Regions from separate parts of the Homo sapiens genome. Here region 1 is linked to region 2. Evidence: promoter capture Hi-C in human tissues and cell types (Jung and others, 2019). All regions are on one chromosome and are shown on one strand. Each heading gives the region's core, a stretch centred on a gene start or on the middle of the fragment in contact. The rest is flanking DNA. Distances are from core to core; before and after follow the strand shown. Region 1 has its middle 32 kb from the start of TNRC6B. Region 2 holds the start of SYNGR1 (synaptogyrin 1).

The links. The method cuts DNA at HindIII sites, captures the fragments that hold promoters and counts their contacts. A contact is called where the count stands out against the background at its distance.
Region 1: a fragment that was not itself captured here is called in contact with the fragment with the promoter of SYNGR1 in region 2 in 1 of the 25 tissues and cell types used here (dorsolateral prefrontal cortex).

The regions. Positions count from the first base shown.
Region 1 is chr22:40,144,340-40,147,998 of GRCh38, forward strand. It overlaps a transcript of TNRC6B not described here. Among named protein-coding and RNA genes, the nearest start is that of TNRC6B, 32 kb to the right of the region's middle. The HindIII fragment of the contact is 4,470 bases long and covers 1-3,533 here.
Region 2 is chr22:39,347,820-39,351,273 of GRCh38, forward strand. SYNGR1 (synaptogyrin 1) reads left to right here and starts at 2,172. Exons shown (of 4, transcript NM_004711.5): 1 at 2,172-2,290. The coding sequence starts at 2,192. RefSeq lists a silencer at 2,219-2,378. The HindIII fragment of the contact is 13,153 bases long and covers 1-3,454 here.

The DNA of each region.
Region 1 (3,659 bases), core at 49-2,548, 800 kb after region 2:
AATTATAGTTTGTCTGTGCAGTGGAACACTACTAAGTTTAAAAATTGAACTCTTGGCTGGGCGCAGTGGCTCCCGCCTGTAATCCCAGCACTTTGGGAGGCCGAGGCGGGCGGATCACGAGGTCAGGAGATCGAGACCATCCTGGCTAACATGGTGAAACCCTGTCTCTACTAAAAATACCAAAAATTAGCCGGGCGTGGTGGCGGGCACCTGTAGTCCCAGCTACTTGGTAGGCTGAGGCAGGAGAATGGCGTGAACCGAGGAGGCAGAACTTGCAGTGAGCCGAGATTGTGCCACTGTACTCCAGCCTGGGCGACAGAGCAAGACTCCGTCTCGGAAAAAAAAAAAAAAAAAAATGAACTCTTGATCAGTGTAACAACATGGATAAATCTCAGAAACATTATACCGAGTGAAAAAATGTAGATATAAAAGTGGTACATACTGTCAGATCCCAGTGATATTAAGCTTTCGAACATGTCAATCCCATTTATAGTTAATAGGGCGATCTTCAAGGGAAGGGGCATGTAGAAGTTTTCTGGGGAGATGGAAATTTTCTGTCTCAATCTATATGTTGCTTGAAGGTACAACCATATCTAAAATTAATCATTAAGGCTAGGCTCAGTAGCTCATGCCTGTAATCCCAGCACTTTGGGAGGCCAAGACTGGAGGATCACTTCAGCCCAGGAATTTCAGACCAGCCTGGGCAGAGAGACCCTATCTAGCTCCACAAAAAAAAAAAAAAAAAAAATTTTTTTAATTAGCTGGGTGTGCTGGCACAGGCCTGTGGTCCCAGCTATTCGGGAGGCTAAGGTGGGAGAATCACTTGAATTCGGGATGTCAAGGCTTCAGTGAGTCATAATTGTGCCGTTGCACTGCAGCCTGGGTGACAGAGTGAGACCCTGTCTCAAAAGTAGAGAGAAATGAGATAAAAATAAAATTCATTGAGCCTACACTTAAAGTGTGTGTATTTTTCTGCTTGTGAATTATACTTCAATTTAAAAAAAAAATTGAGGAGCTTCCACCCATCTCCTTAGTCTGTTGAGACCATGTTAAATATTGATTCTTTTATCCACTATATCAGCTGACTTCTCAGCTTTCAAAAAATATATACATTTTCTTTTTAACTGCAGTACCTGCAGTAGAGGGTGTGGTTGGAGATATTTATAAAATGGGTAGGATTTAGCAATTTATTCGATGTTGAGGAAAGAGAAAACGATAAATCGGCTGGGCATGGTGGTTCACGCCTGTAATCCCAGCACTTTGGGAGGCTAAGGCAGGCGGATCACAAGGTCAAGAGATTGAGACCATCCTGGCCAACACGGTGAAACCCCGTCTCTACTAAAAATACAAAAATTAGCTGGGTGTGGTGGCGCCCTCCTGTAGTCCCAGCTACTTGGGAGGCTGAGGCAGGAGAATTGCTTGAACCCAGGAGGCAGAGGTTGCAGTGAGCCAAGATCACATCACTATGCTCCAGCCTGGTGACAGAGCGAGACTTTGTCTCAAAAAAAAAAGCAGGTTTGGGAGTGAATAGGATGCAGTCTGTATGGAGCACAGAGTTTGAAATGCTGGCATATAATCTGCATGGCAACGTCAGCCTGATGAAACTGTGGGGCTGGAAACGTGATAGGTTAGGATGGAAACAGAATTGGGATCACTCAAATTTAATAGTGGAAACTGTGAGATTAGATGAAATGGCTGTGGCAGAATGAGAAGAAAGAGGTCCAAGGGCAGAACCTAGGGAAATAAATGCTTAGGGAGTAGTAGGAGAAAGGGAAAGTCGGCACATCCTGGTCAAACAACTTTGTTGTGCCAGGCTTCTGGTGAATAAGACATTCAAAGTCTCTGCCTCAAGAAGTTTGCATTCGTGGTTGGGGAGACAGACAATAAGACACATGAACAAATAAGCCTTTCAGGTAGTGATATGTGTGATGCTGGGGAGTGACTGGAAGTATTTCAGCTGGGCTGGTAGGGGAAGATCACCCTGGATCAAAGAGATGGCCCTAGAGCTGATGACTGAATGATGTGAAGGAAGCTTTCATGTAATAATATGTGAGAAATGCTGTCTTTTTTTTTGAGACGGAGTTTCTCTCTTGTTGCCCAGGCTGGAGACCAATGGCATGATTTTGGCTCACTGCAACCTCTGCCTCCTGAATTCAAGCATTGTCCTACATCAGCCTCCCAAGTAGCTGGGATTACAGGCATGTGCCACCACGCCCGGCTAATTTTTTTTTTTTTTTTTTTTTTTGAGATGGAGTCTCGCTCTGTCGCCCAGGCTGGAGTGCAGTGGCGCAATCTCAGCTTACTGCAACCTCCTCCCCCTAGCAGTTCTCCTACCTCAGCCTCCTGAATAACTGGGATTACAGGCGCCCGCCGCCATGCCTGGCTAATTTTTTGTGTGTGTTTGTAGTAGAGACAGGGTTTCGCCATGTTGGCTAGGCTGGCCTTGAACTCCTGACCTCACATAATCCACCTGCCTTGGCCTCCCAAAGGGCTGGGATTACAGGCATAAGCCACCGTGCCCGAACAAGAAACGTTTTCTAAGTCAAAGGAATAAATCCAAAGCCTCTAAGATTGGGTGAGAGAGAGGAAAAGAAATGACGGAAGATGGTCCAGTACAAGGCAGAGATTTTCAAAAGGGTGGACATGGCTACTGTATTAAATATTACTTAGAGGTATTCACAATAGCGAAAAGGTGGAAGTGATCCAAGTGTCCATGGAAGGGTGAATGGATAAACAAAATGTGGTATATACATACAATGGAATATTATTTAGCCTTACAAAGGGAAGGAAACTCTGACACATGCTACAACATAGATGAATATTGAAGACATATGCTAAGTGAAACAAACTAGTGACAAAAAGACAAATACCGTATGATTCTACTTATATAAGGTAACTGGAGGAGTCAGAGTCATAGAGACAGAAAGTGGAATGGTGCTTGTTAGGGACTGGGGGGAGCAGGGACTGGGGAGTTACTGTTTAAGGGGTACAGAGTTTCAGATGGAAAAGATGGAAGAATTGTGGAGATGGATGGTTGATGGTTCCACAGTATCTCAGTTTGTTTATGCTGCTATAACAAAATACCACAGACTAGGTACTTTATAAAGAACAGAAATTTATTTTCTGATAGTTCTAGAGGCCGCGAATAACAAGATCAAGGCACCAGTAGATCTGTTGTCAGGGGAGGCCCCAATCCCTGCTTCTAAGAGGGAGGAATACTGCGTCCCCACGTGGCAAAAGGTGGAAGGGCAAAAAGCGACAGTGCGTCCCTGACAAGCCCTTTTATAACAGCGTGAATTTATGCAGGCAGAACTCTTATGACCTAAACACCTTCCAGAAGGCCCCACCTCCCAACACTATTGCACTGGGGATTAGGTTTTCAACACAAATTTTGGGGGACACATTCAGACCATAGCAAAGACAGACACAAAACACCACATATTATGTCACTCCAATTATATATGAGAAGTCAAAAGAGGCAAATCTGTAGAGATAGAAGGTAGATTCGTGGTTGTCTGGGCCTCAGAAGGAGGATGAAAGGGAGGCAAAATGGAGAGTGACTGCTGTTACGTAAGTAGTTTCTTTTGGAATGATGAAAAAGTTCTAAGATTGGATTGTGGTAGTGGTTGCACAATTCTGTAAATACAATAAAAGCCACT
Region 2 (3,454 bases), core at 922-3,421:
GTCTCGTTCTGTCGCCCAGGCTGGAGTGCAGTGGCGCGATCTCGGCTCACTGCAAGCTCCGCCTCCCGGGTTCACGCCATTCTCCTGCTTCAGCCTCCCGAGTAGCTGGGACTACAGCCACTACACCCGGCTAATTTTTTTTTTTTTTTTTTTGTATTTTTACTAGAGATGAGGTTTCACCGTGTTAGCCAGGATGGTCTCAATCTCCTGACCTCATGATCTGCCCGTCTCGGCCTCCCAAAGTGCTGGGATTATAGGCGTGAGCCACCGCGGATGCTGGGCATCTTTTTATGTGCTGAGTTGCCGTGTGTATATCTTCTTTGGTGAGGTGTATAACTATTCAAATCTTTTGCCCATTTTTTAAAAAGTGGGTCCTCTTATTATTATTGAGTTCGAACGTTCTTTATTTGGGATGCAAGTTCTTTAGATCTATGCTTTGCAAATATTTTCTCCCAGACTATCGTTTGTCTTTTCATACATTCTTTTAACAATGTCTTTTAAAGAACAGAAGTTCTTAATTTTGATAAAGTCCAGTTTATCAATTGTTTCTTTTATGAATCATGTTCTTCATGATTTTTTTTTTTTTTTTTTTTTTTTGAGACGGAGTCTCGCTCTGTTGCCAGGCTGGAGTGCTGTGGCGCGATCTCGGCTCACTGCAACCTCCACCTCCTGGGTTCAAGTGATTCTCCTGCCTCAGCCTCCCAAGTAGCTGGGACTACAGGAGCTCGCCACCACGCCCGGCTAATTTTTGTATTTTTAGTAGAGACCGGGTTCACCATGTTGGCCAGGATGGTCTCAATCACTTGACCTTGTGATCCATCCACCTTGGCCTCCCAAGGTGCTGGGATTACAGGCGTGAACCACTGCGCCCGGCCTTCTCTTGTGCTTTCTTCTAAAAGTTTTATATAGTCATAGTAGACACCTTATAAGTGTGCTGGATTAAATGTGAAAATGTATGTAAAGCCCTTAGCACAAGGCCTGGTAGAGACTAAACAATCAGCTGAGCCTAAGATGGACATTGACTATGTAATTTTTATAAGGAGCACCCTCAGGCCCAGCACACATTTCCTCCACACAGATGTTGTGTCCTGTCATCACAGAATGGCAGGATACCAGAGAAGCAAAAGCCTCCACCCATATCCTCATCCAACCTGCTCCTGGAACCAGTGAAGGTGACTGCAGACATAGAGAGGCCATAGAGCTACAGGGCAGCAGGAGAGCCAGCCCTGGAAGGTGGCCCTTCCCCTGCAGGGAGCACTCCTCCATCTAGCCTCCGTTTCCATGAAACCTGGAGGTCTAGCCCAAGCTGTGATGGGGTGATGGGGACTAGGCTCTGTTTACTGAGCACCTACTGTATGCTAGGCCCTTGGGTAAGGCATTGAATAAGTTAGACAACACCTGGGCCTCGGGAGCTCACAGACTAGCAGCAGAAGAGGCCATGAACAAATGATTGCGTAATTAATTGCTAGATTCAGGAAAGGGGCAACGTTCTGGGGTAGGAGGGGATGGGGAAGAGGAAGTCTCAGCCGCCGCCTCTGTGCCAGGCCCCTCCAGGCTGGGGGTGGGAGGGTGCGCGGGCACAGGGACACACATGACGTCATCGTAAGAGGCAGGGGAAGGGTGGTCCTGGGAGGTGGGGGCTGCTCTGGAGGGCTGTAAGAGAGGGTCATTCACTCGTGGTTCATTCATTCGAGAAATATTCATGCGGCGCCTACTGCGTACCAAGCACCCTCTAAGAAGGACGAACACAGCTCCTGCCCTCTCATTATATTTGGGGCCGACAAAGTGGCAGGAAACAGCCAAACAAATCAAGCGTGAAGATGGTTTCAGCAGAGCCGACGGCTCAGAGGGGCTGCGACCGGGGCAGGGGACCGGGGATGCGGGGCAGGGACACGGCCCACACTTGCTGTGCACGCACCGCCCTCCCCCAAACACTTTGCAAAGAGGTCACCGCACTGGCTGCGAGCGCGCCCTGAGCCCCGGGCCGCAGCACGCGCGCCCCCGCGCCCGAGGTCGCGCGCTGCCCAGCCCCCCGCCCGCGCCCCGCGAGCTGCGCCCGCCGCGCACGACGCCCCCTCGCGGGAGCCCTGGGCCGCCGGCCGCGCGCGCAGGGGAGGGGGCGGGGGCGCCGCGCACGCGCACGGGCCGGCGGCGCGCGCCGAGCGGGGGGCACCGCGCGGGTGCAGCCACGATGGAAGGGGGTGCGTACGGAGCGGGCAAAGCCGGGGGCGCCTTCGACCCCTACACCCTGGTCCGGCAGCCGCACACCATCCTGCGCGTCGTGTCTTGGGTAAGGACGGACTGGCCGACGGCTCTGCCAGGCCGGGGTGGTGGGGGTGTGAGCAAAGGCGGCGCGCCCGGACCGACCCCGACCCCGACCCCAACGGGCCCCCGGCGGCGGCGCGGCGGCGGGCGAGGAGCTGTCCTGCCTGCGGGGCCCGCTGCCGCCGCTCCTCCTTCCCGGGCCCGGGGCGGGCGGGATCCCTGGTGCTCGCGGGAGACGCCGCTCCGGCTCCCGGAGCCCTGGTTTCCTGGGGCCCCCGGTTCGTGCGCCCCCCTTCCCGCCCCGATTGCTGTGACCTCCAGGCCGCGGCTATGCCGCGAAAGGCTCGGATTGTGCGCGGCCGCCAGGGCGGACTGGGGACCGTGGGGACGGAGCCAGGGTTTAAGGTGGCCTTTTTTGGGGGGTGGATCAGGGCGTGGACCATCTCGGTGGGGTGCATGCCGCGCCTGCGATGGACGTTGGAGGAGGAGAGGGCCGGGAACCGGGTTCGTATTGCCTAGCCCGGCCCGTGTGGAGCGATGAGTCGGGAACTGAGTACCTCTCTTCCACCCGGGAACTGCCTCTCCTTCTCTGCGTGACCTTGGGCTGGGAGCCACCCAGGAAATGTTCTCGAGAAATGAGGACTTCAATTCCGAGGTGGGGAGTGTCATCTCCTCTCTCATGCCTCAGTTTCCCAATTTATAGACAAGGTGGGCGGAGCCTTCTTGAGGCCCCCTTGGGCTCTGACATTTCATGAACCGGTAACACCCCTCCCACTCAGCATGCACCTGGATGCCCAAGGCGGGTGTCTGGGAGAAAGGTCTGCTCCCACAGTGAAGAGGCCAGGGTGGCCTCCAGCCTAGCTGGGGGGCAGGGTCCTCAGTGCAGAGGGCTGAGTGGGCTCTTGTTCAGACGGGTGGTCAGGGAGAGGATGGGTCAGAGACAGTGAGCACAGAGGGAGGGGTTCAGGTGCCTTGAGTGGCACCTCATGGAAAGAAGCCCTGCTGGGGTCTGGAGAGGGGGTTTCTGGGGCTCCCTGGGTTTGGCTGGCTGTATCCCAGAAACTCCCACTCGAGGTTCTGGCCTCTGCAGGCCTGGGGCCCGTTCCTTGTGGGCTTAGACTAGGAATGGGCTAGACTGTCAGGGACCCCAGGGGCTACCCCAAGGCCAGCTGTGACCTCAGGGTGCCCA